Regions from separate parts of the Homo sapiens genome. Here region 1 is linked to region 2. The links are contacts of gene promoters, found by promoter capture Hi-C in blood cells and fetal thymus (Javierre and others, 2016). All regions are on one chromosome and are shown on one strand. The core of a region is centred on a gene start or on the middle of the fragment in contact, and the rest is flanking DNA. Distances in the headings are between cores, read along the strand shown. Region 1 has its middle 110 kb from the start of GNL3L. Region 2 holds the start of HUWE1 (HECT, UBA and WWE domain containing E3 ubiquitin protein ligase 1).

The links. Contacts are between HindIII fragments. The CHiCAGO score rates a contact against its expected background, and 5 or more counts as called.
Region 1: a fragment that was not itself captured here is called in contact with the fragment with the promoter of HUWE1 in region 2 in 1 of 17 cell types (total B cells); the score reaches 5.4 in total B cells.

Annotation. Positions count from the first base shown.
Region 1 is chrX:54,637,382-54,644,341 of GRCh38, forward strand. It overlaps a transcript of GNL3L not described here. Among named protein-coding and RNA genes, the nearest start is that of GNL3L, 110 kb to the left of the region's middle. RefSeq lists enhancers at 1,802-2,327, 1,894-2,023, 2,314-2,563. The HindIII fragment of the contact is 307 bases long and covers 4,648-4,954 here.
Region 2 is chrX:53,684,877-53,692,621 of GRCh38, forward strand. HUWE1 (HECT, UBA and WWE domain containing E3 ubiquitin protein ligase 1) reads right to left here and starts at 1,843. Exons shown (of 84, transcript NM_031407.7): 1 at 1,712-1,843; 2 at 1,394-1,492. RefSeq lists an enhancer at 1,187-1,266 and silencers at 1,477-1,776, 1,850-2,024. The HindIII fragment of the contact is 15,452 bases long and covers 130-7,745 here.

The DNA.
Region 1 (6,960 bases), core at 3,551-6,050, 960 kb after region 2:
TAGAAGTGTCAGGCTGTGTGTGTGTATACACACATATATATTTTGCAGTTTGTATGTATACACACATATACACACATGTGTGCACACATGTGCATGCACACACACACACATATATATCTCACTATCTACTTTTGAATGAATGTTATGCCAGTAGTTCCCAATACTGGTCTGTCATCTTGTGCAAGGGCCTGATATAGTTTTTGCCAATCTGCAGTAAAATGAAGATAAAAAGGACACTGTAGTGTATATTTGATTTAAAGGCCTCTGCTTTATCTTATTTACTTGCTAATTTGTGCAAAACTGCAAAAGATATGTATAAATCAGGGAAATGTAAATACTTGGATATTTTATAATATTAGGAAATTATTCTTAAATTTTTAGATATTCTGTGGTATTATGGTTATTATTATAAAAGAGTTCTTATATTTTAAACACATGAACTCAAATATTTATGGAGAAAATGGCGTCTAGCATTTGCTTCAAAGTAATCTGGGATACGATGTGTGTTGGGGTTTGAGATGTAAGATGCTTGGCCAGGAGGTGATAATTGAGAAGCTGGGTGAGAGGTACTTGGGGGTTCATTTACTCTTCTTTCTACTTTTGCATATGTTAAAAATTTTCATATTAAAGATAAATTAAAAAGTTCGTTCCTTTAATGGGGGATTATGTGTAATTGTCTTTTCTTAAAATGATGGTGATAGAAGGCAGTAGTTTGTTTTTAGTGTCCTTCTTCCGCAATATTTTATCCATCCTTTGCAATTTTTTGAAATATTGTTTGGGCTGTGAAGTCCTAAACTCTTGGGACTGTGAACTTGTGGGACTGGATCTGATCACATGAGGCCACAAACATTTACTGACAAGATCCTGGGTGCCAGACCCTGTTCTGGACTAAAAATATACAGCGAATTAGACACAGTCCACATTCCTGAGAATTGCTGTAGAAAATGAGGTAAGAAATGTAAAATCCTTCACACAGTGCCTGATACAGTGTAAGTGCTCAATAAACATTAAGTATCATCATCACCACCCTCACTACTATCATCATCACCTTCGATATCTTTCCATGTCAGTTTATATATAGCTCATTAAATTAATTAATTAATTAATTGAGATAGTCTGGCTCTGTTGCCCAGGCTGGAGTGCAGTGGCGCAATCTCCGGCCCACTGCAACCTCCGCCTCCCGGGTTCAAGCGTTTCTCCTGCTTCAGCCTTCTGAGTAGCTGGGATTACAGGCGCCTGGCTAATTTTTGTATTTTTAGTAGAGACGGGGTTTCACCATGCTGGTCTCGAACTTCTGACCTCAGGTGATCCACCCACCTCGGCCTCTCAAAGTATTGGCATTACAGCCGTCAGCCACCATGCCCGGCCTATATATAGCCCATTTTAAACTGATAAGTTTATCAACCATCTCCTGCCCCCACTGATACTTTCAATTTTTCGTTATTGCCAACAAATCAGCACGGCTTACACTTGTTCATAAGGCTCCTTGCAGTTTTTTGTCCTCTAGATCTAAGGTTCTTAAAGTGTGGTCTTGAACCAGTTTGCCCCAGCATTACCCTGGAAGTTGTTAGAAACACAAGTTCCTAATCTCTGATAGTAGATGGGCCACAACAATCTGTGTTTTAACAAAGCCCTGTAGGTGATCCGCATACACTTCTCTAGGAGTCTTGGATGTATATATATGGAAATGGGATTGCTGAGCCAATAGGATATATACCTTTAAAATAATGTTTTTTAAAATAAAATAGAGAGGGAGGGTCTCACTGTGTTGCCCATGCTGGTCTCAAACTCATGGACTCAAGTGATCCACCCACCTTGGCCTCCCAAAGTGCTGGGATTACAGGCGTTACATTAAAAAAAATTTAATAGTCAAAGAGCTCTCCAAATCAGGCACGAACTTTTACTTATATATTAAGGTCTTACTTTGAATAGGGTTACTAAGCCTGCTGAAATAACCCCTTTTCTTCCGGTACCCACTTTCATCCGACGTGCCCCGCCCGCCCGACTCGATTGCATCAGCCTCCTGTCAGCCCCGCCCCAGTGTACTTGCACTCGCAAGCGCAGCTGGGTTATCTTGGGACTAGACGCTCACGGGGCGGGGCTTCGATTCTCACTCTTGGAGCGGGGAGGCCAAAAGAGTCGGAAAGGGGCGTTATCTCTTTCGGAAGTGAGTGGGACAATGGCGAGCAAGCGGTCGTGAGCCTTGAGCTTTGCAGCTTTTCTTGGCTCCCATTTCCTCCTAAAGCCACGAGTTTACCAGCGTCTCTTACAAGTAGTGTGTCGCCACTTTAAAAAAAACATCAGGAAAGGAAAAGGGAGAACCCCGGAGCCCGAAGCTACGCCCGCCTGCGGCAGGGGTGCGCCAATTGTCCAGTGGTGAGGGCGCATGCGAACCATTGACAATGACGTAATCTTGCAGCTCACAGCCGGAGTGAGGCTTTCGGGGAGGGAGGAGCTCCGGTGAGAGTAACAGGGTCGGATTTGTCTGGGCCAGGCCCAGGCTGAGACGCCTACTAGGGGATGGAGGGCCCCAGAAGGAGGGAGAGGGAGGAGTCTTGGACTCTCTCGGAGAACGAGGCTGGGGCTGGCCACCGAGAGTGGAAGCCGCTGTCCAGAGGTTAGAGCCACCCAAGAGCTGGTAGTCGAGTGGCCGCCAGGGGGTGACCGTGCCTGCGTACGTCCACAAGTGGGCCCATAAAGACTGGCCCATATATTTTTGAAACTGTTTATTTTTGTATCTGTTTCCTCTTCTGCCCTGACATCCCAGAGAAAGAGTTGTGGGTGATTGACCTTTGAATCACCAGCACCTCGGGGAGGGCCTGGTACAAAGAAGACACATTTTTAAGGCGGTTGATTGACGGAAGGAAAAGACTGAAAAAACGAAAACAACAAGCCAAAAACCCCAAACCCAGAGATACCCATACATGACATAAAGTTAAGGCCTTTTTAAAAAGTAATAATAGAGGAGAAATTTTAAATGTCCATCAGCAGAGCTTGAGGCCATGCAGTTTTTAGGTTGTTGCAGTCAGAGTGTACACACAACCCTGCATCCTTAGTTATGGCATAATAATTTTTCTCTGTTGCTATAGAATCTCCACAGCCGTCATCTCTCAGCAATGGTTGTAGAATGTTCCATTAGACAGCTGTGCCACAATTCACTTAACCCTTCTCTTGTTGGATATTAAAACTACTTTCTAGTGTTTGACCACCAAAATATATCTCTGCAAGGAATAATTTTGTGCTTAGAGCTTTTCCTGTAGGAGTAGGGGTGGGTGGATATCGATTTAGGAGCAGAATTACCAGGAAAATGTCATAAACATGTTTTAGGCTCTTGTCGACCCGCTTTCCTGAAAGGGATCATACCCGTTGACATCAGAAGCCAAGTCCGAAATCAAACCTGGTGGACTCCGGGTCTTGTCTGTCTCCAGGCTGGTTTTAATTTCCGTATCCTGCAGCAATGCAGAAGTTTATTATTAGTTCTGACCTTTGGGGCAAGGCAAACACACACCAAAGGTTCGGGGACAACTTTAGCAACTGCAACAGCTGACATTGTGAGCGGGTGCAGCTCAGGTTTCAAGCTTGAGCAACTGGGTTGGATGAACTTGCCTCACTGAGACAGGGAATCTGAGAAGAGGAACAGGTTTGGGAGGGAGCAGATGAGATCAGTTTTAAATACATTTAGTTCGAGGTGCCTTTGGGACATCTAAAGGGAGGTATCCAGGAGACAGGCATACATACGGATAAACAACAGTTTTTGCCCTTCTCTGAACTCCCAGAGCTCCCTATCTGTGGATTTCTCATGGCTCAGTTTGCCTTTTACCTTTTACTATCCTCAGAGCTCCTTGAGGCCAGGATAAGGGCCTCATTCATTTGTGTATCCTTCCTCCCAGTGCCCAGTACAGTGCTTTATACCTAGAAGGCCATAAAAGTCTGTCCTGTATAATGAAATTTCATTGATTTCTTAATTGGATGATTCCTGCAGTAGGGGTCCTGATCTGGGTGAAAAAGTTTGGGAACCTTAAGAGTTCTGGGAAGGCTTCCTGTAAGAGGTGGCATAATGTTACCGTGAATAATTATGACTATTTGTTGAACACCTGCCATGTTCCAGTCACTCTGCTGCACACATGCATCAGAGATGCCACCACTATCTTTGATGGCCACTGGCCATCTTTACATCCCCTTCTGGGAGCACTGGCTCTACTTACAGCTCCTACCAAATGATCAAGCAAGGACTAACTATGTATTACATCCACCCTTCCTTTAGGATACAGCACCTGATCCAAGGCCAGCCCACAACCTGTGAGTTGTATGGCCCAGCTTTAGAAGATGAGGTGGGCCAATCAGATTGCTCTCTTGGGAATGTGAAATAAGAGATCCAGAGGAGAGTTGCCAGTTAGTTGTGGGGAGCTGAGCTGACAGGTCCAGTAGACCAGGATGCTGGGTAGGTGGGTGCAGCATTATGAATCAGGTCAAGTGCCTGTTAAAATCCTGGGGGAGCAGTTCAAGGTGGTTGGCTGAATGAGGAAGCTGGGGCAGATGTACAGAGAGAAGCAGACATGTAGTGCAGATGAATTACATTAATGGTAAAGCTCCAGAGCAGAGGGTCCATGCCTCATCCAGAAATTTCCTGCAGCTCCAGGCTTAATAAGCTTTATCTGTACTTCACTTCCTGCCCTTGGATTTCTGATTCGTGATCTAGCTTCACTGGGTTTCTGTTCCTTGCATCCAAAAGAGTCTTAACAAAAACAGCCTTTTAAATAGGTTTAATTTAATTTGCACTTCGGCCCTCTGAGGTGAGTGTACTTTTCCTCATTTTACAAGTGAAGAAACTGAGGCTTAGTGAGATTAACTTGACTAAGGTGACACAGCCAGTGATGGAGCTGGTCTGTCAGATTCTCTTAATCTTTTTTTTAAAAGCATTAATATGTTATTTTTATTTTTAAAAATGACCACAAGCTTGTCATATAAAAACAAAAGCAATCAATACAGACATAATCTGATCTGAACATCAATCAGCTCCTTCGACTCTTCCTTTCATTTATTTCCTTTCAATGTAAAGGAATGTAGCTCCAGCTACATTGGCCTCTGTTTCCAGAACACGCCAAGGTTGTTCTCACCTTTGGTCCTTTATACTGAGTGTTCCTTCTCTTTATTTAAAAAAAAATTTTTTTTCCTTCGCCAGCTTTAAACAGAGAGTCCCTTCTCTTTGTAATGCTTTTCCCCTTGCTTTTCCAGTGGCTGGCTCCTTCTTGTCATTGTCTTCACTCAATTGTCACTTCTTCAGAGAGGACTTTGCCAAACCACGCAGTATGAAATAGCCCACACAACTCTTGGCCCCACTGCTTTCTGTCATATAAACTCCTTTTTATTCCCTGCATAGCCCTTGTCACTGTTTGAAATTGCGTTGCTCATTTATGTAATTGTTTATTGTCTGCCTCCTCTTCAGAAATGAGAACAGAAGCCTTATCTGTATCCTGAGGATCTAAAACTGCTGGTATGTAAGTTCAATCAATATTTGTAGAATAAATGAATGTATAAACTAAAAACAAAGTTCTCATCCAATGCTTTTCTCTCCTAATACCAATCTCCAGAGACAGTAACTGTTAACAGTTTTGTCTACATCTTCCCATTTTCCATGCATATACAAACAAGCATGTATCTTTCTGCATAAAGATAAATATGAATATATGCTTTTGTTTACACCAATGAAAGTTCTATAATTGCCTTTTTCATATAACACTTAACATCTTCCTGTACCAATACATATACATCTACCTTATTAAAAACAAGACAAAACAAATTCATATTATTACAATGTATGGAGTTACCAGAATTTATTTAATTGGATGTCTTTTAGTGGTTATTTTTTTCTAATTTTTTGTTTTTATGTGTTGTAATATTGAAATAAATATTCTTATTATATATGTATTTGCACAAATGTCTCCCACACCCATTTGTTGTCTTTTGTCTTTGCTTGTGGTATATGCAAAGATAAACTTTGTTTAAACTTATATGGTTAGGTTTACCAATCATTCCCTTTATGGTTTTTGGGTTTTGTTTTCTTTTTAAATAATTTAATTTAATTTTAATTTTTATGGGTACACAATTTAATTTTTATGGGTTGTACATGCCTATGGGTTACATGTGATATTTTTATACCTGTTTATGATGTGTAATGATCCAGTCAGGGTAATTGGGATAACCATCACCTCAAACATTTATCATTTCTTTGTGTTGGGAATATTCCAAATCTACTCTTTTAGTTATTTTGAAATATACAATAAATTATTGTTAACTATAGTCACCCTATGGTGCTACCAAACACTAGATCTTATTCCTACCATCTAACTGTATTTTTGTACCCATTAACCAACCCCTCCTTATCCCCACCTCTCCACTACCCTTGCCAGCCTCTGGTAATCATCCTACTACTCTCTACCTCCACAAGATCAGTGTTTTCTTAACTCCCACGTATGAGTGAGAACATGTGATATTTGTTTTTCTGTGCCTGGCTTATTTCACTTAACATAATGTCATGCATGTTGTTATAAATGACAGGATTTCACTCTTTTTGTATGGCTGAATAATATTCAATTATGTATATATACCACATTTTCTTTATCAATTCATCCGTTGATGGACACTTAGGTTGATTCTGTGTCTTGACTATATTGAATAGTGCTACAATAAACATGGGAGTGCAGATATCTCTCCAATATACTGATTTCCTTTCTTTTGGATGTATACCTAGCACTGGGATTGCTGGATAATATGGCAGTTCTAGTTTTAGTTTTTTGAGGAATCTCCAAACTGTTTTCCATAGTGGCTGTACTACTTTCCATTCCCACTAACAGTGTACAAACATTCTCCTTTCTCAGCATCCTTGCCAGCATCCGTTATTTTTTGTCCTTTTGAGAAAAGCCATTTTAACTGCAGTGATTACAAATACTTTACCCACTC
Region 2 (7,745 bases), core at 593-3,092:
CCACCAATTTTAACTACTGAAGCTTTACCTTGGCATAACCAAAAAGATCCAATAAAGTGGTTTTCTCCAAACAAAGGAGTCTGCCCTCAAAGGAATATTCAAGCTTCGGGGATGGGGGGAAATGCCTGAAGCTTTTAATATGGCAGTTTTTCCACGTCTAGCCAACAGTGTTTCTCCAATAAATCTTGGGATCCAATCTGGCTTGATTTGTGGGCTTTTCCATTCTAATGCATTGTTCTGTCCGTTCTAATTTAAATAGTTCCTTTAGAGTACATTTTAATAGCCAGTAGTACAAATATCCCTATCTTTACTTACGTTTTAAAATATTTTTTTTCAGTTATTCTTAGCCATTTTTTTCCCCCGGATGAACTTTAGAATCATAGTAAGTTCCAAAAAAACTTGGTATATTTATTGAAATTGCATCAACTGTATAAACCAATATAGGAAAAATGGACATCACTAAAATATTGAGCCTTCTTATTCAGAAGCATAGTATTCCTTCTCTTTTCATGCAGATGTTCTTTTATGGTATTCGTCAATAAAGTTTTATAGTTTACTTCTAGGTATTTTTATTCGTTTCTCTTGCTATTGCGAACAGGTTTTTTATTATTAAAATTTCAAAATGCTTATTGCTTATAGATAGGAAAACTGCCTATATAAACTATTGATATTTGCCTATTTACAAACAAAAATATGATCAATTTCGCCAGTAATCAGGGAAATGCAAATGAAAACAATGACATACGATTTTTTTGCCCTTTAAATTGGCTAAAATTACAAAGATTGATAATACGTGTTGGCATAACTGTGGAAAAATAGGCACTCTCGCACAACATTAAAGAGTGTAAATTAGTACAGGCTTTTGGGAAGGCAATTTGGACAAATCTATCAAAATTCAAAATGCATATACACCCTGACCCAGCGGTTACTCTTCTAAGAATTTCTCCTACAGAAATACTCATACATGGCATGATACATATACACAAACCCATTCATTATGGCATTGCTTGTAATAGTCCCCTCCCTCCCCCAACAGAGAAACAAGCTAATGTATATCAATCGGGAAATGGTTAAATAAACTGTAGTACAATCATACAATGCAGCTGTTTAAAACCCAACATAAATTTGGATTCCCGGATATAAGAAGATCTACAAGACATATTCTCAGATTTTTAAACAAGCAGTTAGTCGAAATGAATGTGTGTGTGTGTGTAGTACCATTTAGATATCAAAACATATATATGCAACGCCTAGTAGTTACCCGCGAAGCCTGCCTGCCCGCCCCTCACCTTCCCTCTCCTCTGAGGCCGCCTTCCTCGAACCAGTGAGAAACGCTGAAGGCCCGGCCTCTACTCTCTCTTTAGGGCCACTTGGCCATGGCTAATGCCGGTACCTCGCATCCCCTCTGTCAGCCGCTCTCTCGCCGCGCCGCCGGCAGCTGCCGGGCTGCCCCCGAAGATGCGGCTAGCTCTCCGCTGGCGCCTGCCGAGGCCTGGGGGAGGGGAGAGGAGGCGGGGTTCAGGGAGGGTTGGGGCAGGCCGCCCTGCCCCTCCAGCAGCCTTTCCCGCAGGCTCCCCAAGGCCGCCACCTCCGCGCCTCCGCGCAGGGTCCCGTGGGAACTCCCCCCCCAACCTCGCCACTGCCACCCGCGAGAAACCGAGAACGGCCGCGCGTACAGAGCTCGCCCTCCAGCCCAGGGATAGACGCTCACCTCGGCCGCAATGGCTCCGCGGGGCCCGCAGGAGCGTGCGGGGTCCGCGGCCCTGCTTCAGCCCTGCTTCAGCCCTGCTCCAGCCCTGCTCCAGCCCTGCTCCAGCCCTGCTCCCCTCGCTAGCCCTCAGTCGAAAGCCTCCTCGCTTCGGCTCAGCTCAAACTCGATTTGGGGCTCCACCCACCGCAAGCGAAGCCCCGCCCCTGCCCCTCGGGAGGGAGCTCCCTCCGCGGTGAAGTCGGGTCCCTTGCAGGGGACCGCGCCTGAGCTACCCAAGGCCCAGTAAATGCAACCATAGAGGATGATAGGGTCGCTAAGAATTGGGATTTGATTCGAGGCACGGTGGAAGCCGCGGAAGGGAACATGATTTGATCTGATTTACCTTTAAAAATTAACGACCTCGCCAGATGCCTTGTGAAGAATGGGGAGTGTGGGGCAAGAGGGCAAGGCTGGACCCAGAGCGGAGGGTGGGAGACGACGTGGGAAGCCGACCACCCAGAGTTCACGCGAGCAAACCCTTAAAACACTTCAGGCACATAGTAAGCCCTCAATAAACATTCTTTTTTCCTCCTTTAATTATTTGGAACGGCAGTGCGATTGACAAGGATCCTGTAGAGGATCTGCATCTGTAAATACATGGGAATAAAAAGGACCTGGTGGGAGATCACCTGTTAACCCTACTTAATTATTGTGGGCTGCGGACGACATTGGAGGGGCGAAGAACTTTGACTTGGAACTCTAGCTACTTCGATAAGGTTTCAATTTTTAATAAAAAGTATGTATTAATTTAGTATTTAAAGACAAAAGCACTATTAAAAGAACTCCTGAGACATCGAGGAAATAAAAACTGTGATTATACCCTCCACTTCTCTAATTCCAGCCCTCCAGAGCAGTGGTTCATCCCTCGAATTGAGAATCTAATGAATGGGTCCCCCACCCCAATATATACTTACACATAAAATTTTGTATATGATCTCAGGAGATGTACAGGGCCCCTTCGAGATACACTGTTTCATTGAATATTTTTACAATTTTTTTTTTTTGAGACAAAGCATCACTCTGTCACCCAGGGTGAAGTGCAGTGGCACGGTCACGACTCACTGCAGCCTCGACCTCCTGGGCTCAAGGATCCTCCTGCCTGCCTACAGTCTCCCAAGTAGCTGGGCCTCCAGGTATGCGCCACCACGCCTGGATAACTTTTTATTTTTTGTAGAGGCGGGGTCTCACTATGTTGCCAGGCTGGTCTCAAACTCTTAGGCTCAAGCAGTTCACCCGCCTCGGCCTCCCAAAGCGCTGGGATTACAGGCGAAAGACCCGGCCCATCTGTAACATTTAGTGGCAACATGAAGCTATACTTTCTTTAGCATGTAATTAACTTCGGTTGTTCTTTTTTCATTTTAAAATTGGTTTCCTAATTACACATGATTATTGTAAAACACGGATAAATTTAAAGTTCCCCTTACATTCATATACACAAATAGAAAAGCATGGCTTTGTTTTTGTTTTTCATTTAAAAAATAAATAGCATCCTTTTTATGTATTGTTATGTTAATTGCTTTATTCACTTAATGTAGCTTGAAGATCTTTCCATGTCAATATATATAAATCTACCTCATTTATCTTACCTACTGCATAGTATTCCATTGAATGAATATACTGTAATCATTCATCTATGGATAAACACATGTTATTTTCAATCTTTGACTATTACAGTGGGGTTTTTTTTTTACTGTTAACAATGCTGCAATAAAATTCCTTGTACATGCTTTTTTCTGCAGATGCTAAAATATTTCTGTGAGATAAACATGGAGAAATGAAATAGTTGGATAAAGGTAGCACACATTTTTTTTTTTTAAGATAGTGTCTCACTGTCACCCAGGCTGGAGTGCACTGGTGCGATTAGGGCTTACTGCAGCCTTGACCTCCAAGGCTCAAGCGATCCTCCCACCTCAAGCAATCATCCCACTTCAGTCTTCCCTCGAGTAACTGGGACTATAGGCGTGTGCTATCACGCCTGGCTAATTTTTGTATTTTTTGTAGAGATGAGGTATCACTACGTTGCTCAGGCTGGTCTCAAACTCCTTGGCTCAAGTGATCCTCCTGCCTCGGCTTACCAAAGTGCTTGGATTACAGGCGTGAGCCACTATTCTCTGCCCAAAGATAGCACATTTTGAAATTCTAATACATAATGTCAAATGACAAATTGCCACGTAGAACGACTATTTCAGTTTATACCTCCACTAGCAGTGAGTAAGAATTAGCATTTCCCTAAATTCTTACCCGGACTCGATATTAACCAATCATTTTAATATTTTGCCAATATAATGGGTGAAAAATGTCTCATTATTTACATTTCCCTGATTATTAGCTAAGGAGTATTTTCTTTCTTTCTTTCTTTCTTTCTTTCTTTCTTTCTTTCTTTCTTTCTTTCTTTCTTTCTTTCTTTCCTCTCTCTCTCTCTTTCTTTTCTTTCTTTCTCTTTCTTTCTTTTTTTTTTTGAGACAGTCTCACTCTGTCTCCCAGGCTGGAGTGCAGTGGCATGATCATGGCTCACTGCAGCCTCGATCTCCTGGGCTCAAGGGATCTTCTTGCCTCAGCATCCTGAATAGCTGGGATTACAAGTGCAAGCCACCATGCCTGGCTAATTTTTTTTGGGGGGGGAGGGGGGAGTGGGGAACAAGATGAGGTCTCACTATGTTGCCCAGCCTTGTCCCAAACTCCTGGGCTCAAGCAATCCTCTCCAATCTGCCTCAGCCTCCCAAAGTGTTGTTTCAGGCGTGAGCCACCGCACTGTGCCCCAAGAGATTTTTATCTATTTTATTATGAAAGTTTTCAAACATACGACGTTGAAAGAATTTTACATCTGTATACCCACCACATTGATTTTACCATGTTTTGTTATAACTTTACTACATATATGTCATTTATCTATCCACCAATCAAGCCATCTTATTTGTATGCATTTCTCTTTCTCATGTAACTAAACTCTCCAGAGTTTATTCTGTTGATATTTTCAAAGAACTATTTCTTAGATTTATTTTTCTGTTCTACCATTTTTCCCATTCTCTACTTAAGTTATTATTTTCAGCTTTAATGTTTATTAATATCTTCCTCCAGTTTTCTCTAAGTTTATTTTTTTCAGTGTTTTACTTCATATGAAGTGCTCTCATTCTTATTAATTTCTAGTTTATAATTTTAGGTTTGATTTCTTCTTTGACCATGAGATATTTAGAAGTATTTTCTTTGTGAGGTGACTCAAATTTTTTCTTATCTGGATGTTTTTGTGGTTAGAGGTTAGCTGTACTGCACTGTGTTCCATTAATGTGACTTTTATTATTTCTACTATTGGAAATGCATTGTGCTTTCTTTTATGATTCAGTACCTGATCAATCTTGGCAAGAGTTGCATAGGCATTTTTAAAAACTTTATAGCGTACAATTTATGTGCTTTTATAACTGTTTTCTTCATACATTTAATGGAATATTGGTTGCTATGTATGTTTATGACAGAAGATAGTCTTGGTAGATAGTCTCTTTTTTTCTTTTTTTAGAGACAGGATCTCACTCTGGTGCCTAGAGCTAGAGTGCAGTGGCACAATCATAGCTCACTGTCACCTCAAACTCTTCAGTATCTCTCTTTACCCTGTTTAAAGTTTTTTTTTTCCTTGAATACTATTTTTCTTTCTTTCTTTCTTTTTTTTTTTGAGACACAGGACACAGTTTCACTCTGCCACCCAGGCTGGAGTACAGTGGTGCAATCTCGGGTCCCTGCAACCTCTGCCTCCCTGGTTCAAGCGATTCTCCTGCCTCGGCCTCCTTAGTAGCTGGGATTACAGGCCCATGTGCCACCACACCCGGCTAATTTTTGTATTATTAGTAGAGATGGGGTTTCACCATGTTGGCCAGAATGATCTCGAACTCCTAACCTCAAGTGATCCACCCACCTCAGCCTCCCAAAGTGCTGGGATTACAGGTGTGAGCCACTGTGCCCAGCCTGAATACCAATTTTTCTAATATTCATGCTGTCATTTTTGTATATGTAAATATCTTTTTTTTTAACTGATTACAGAAGATCAGACAAATCCACAAATTATTCGAATAGAGTTAATGGCATGATGTATATTCTTTCAGAACTTTTTCTATATATACATTTACACCTATATTACAATGCAGATTTTTTAAACCAAAAAAGGAGAAATAAAGATATATTTAAGTTTTACAACTTGCCTTATTGACAATGCATTCTTGAAATTCTTTCTGTCAGTGTCTATACGTTTACCTTATTCTTTTTAATTGATCTCTGGAGCTGGCACTTACACAGTGCCTGGCCCATCACTTGCTTTTTTTAAAAAAATTAAATATTGCTTCAGGGAAGCCTTCCTTGACCCCCGCCGCCCCGCCAAAACTGGATCAAGGTCCACTGTAATACGCGTTCATAGTACTCTGCTATTTTCCTCCCAAACCACCCAAAACAATTGTACAGTTGTGTGATTAATATCTGTTCCTCACCACCCTACACACACACACCTCACACCTCTACACTGAACAGTGAGCTCCTCAGAGGCAGGGACCAAGCCTGTTTTTTTTCCTACTCATACACCAGCACCTATTATAGTGCCTGGCAATTATATCTGTTCGATAAATATTTTTGATGCGATTATGCCCATTTTACAGGTTAGAAAGCTGTGCAAATTAAGTAACAGTTGTCCTATAAGAAATCCCCTGAGGCTACTCAGAAATAAATAGAGGTAACAACAGATTATGAGTGCCTTAACACGCCAATACATAACATATTTTCCTTAGTTTTAAATTATTCACATAGGGTAGATATTCCTTTGGATTGTTACTGAGTTTTCATTATTATGGAGAGTGCTGAAATAAACATTCTTGTAGTAATAGCTTTACACATGTTTGTACTCCTATAAGATAAATAAATAAATAGAAATTGAATTCCTGCAAAGGGAATGCACATTTTACAATTGGATAGATATTGCCAAATTGCCCTCCAAAAGAGATTACGCGAATTTATATTTGTAGTACCCAAGTATGAGAGTGCCTTCCGCCCCCATACCCTTGCCAGAGCTGTGCATTTTCACTAATTTTTTTCTTTGGTAATCTGATACTTACAAAGTGATATGTCATTCTTTTCATTTTCATATCTTTGATTTTTGGCGAGGTTGAATATCTTTTAATTAGTTTCTTGGCCATTTGTATTCTTCTTCTTCTAAATGTATAGCTTGTTTGTACATTTTGCCCATGTTTTTTGTTGAATAGTCTTGTTGTTGAGTTGGAATAGCTCTTTTTATATCACGGATAATACTCTTGTCTTCCTGTCATAAATATTTTCTTCATTTTTTTGTTTGTGTTTTAACCTTATAAAGCTGTTTCTTAGAACATACAAGTTTAACATCCTTTATATAATCAAATTTGTTATCATTTCATTTATTTATAGTAGCTGGTTTAAGTGCTGTGTTCTGAAAGGCTTTGCCCACTTCAAGACTAGAAAACTCTTCATCTATGTTTTCTTCTAACGCCTTTATGGTTTTGAATATTACATTTCAATATTTGTCTCATGTGGGTATTATTTTGGCGTGTAGTACAAACGTAGGATTCCAACTTTATTTTTTTCTCAAAATCTATCCAATTGTTCTTCATAATTATTGAATAGTTGACATTTCACTCATTAACTTAAAATGCCCCCTTTATCAAATACTAAATTCCCTGACATTTTGGGATGCATTTGTAGAATCTTCTGTTCCATTGTGTAATAGTTAAGAGTGCCAGCACTGGAGCTGGATTTGAGCCCAGCTCTGCCATTCATAGTTTCCTCTTCTGTAAAATGGGGATAATAGTACCCACCTCATAGGGTTGTGATTACCGGATAAGTTCATTTATGTACAATGATTAGAACTGTTCCTGGCCTTCAGTAAGTATTTGGTATTTTTGTAGTATTTATTATTCTTAAATTTTTAGTATTGCTTTTTATTTTTCATAGTATACAATCACATGATCTGCACATAATATTTTTATCTCCT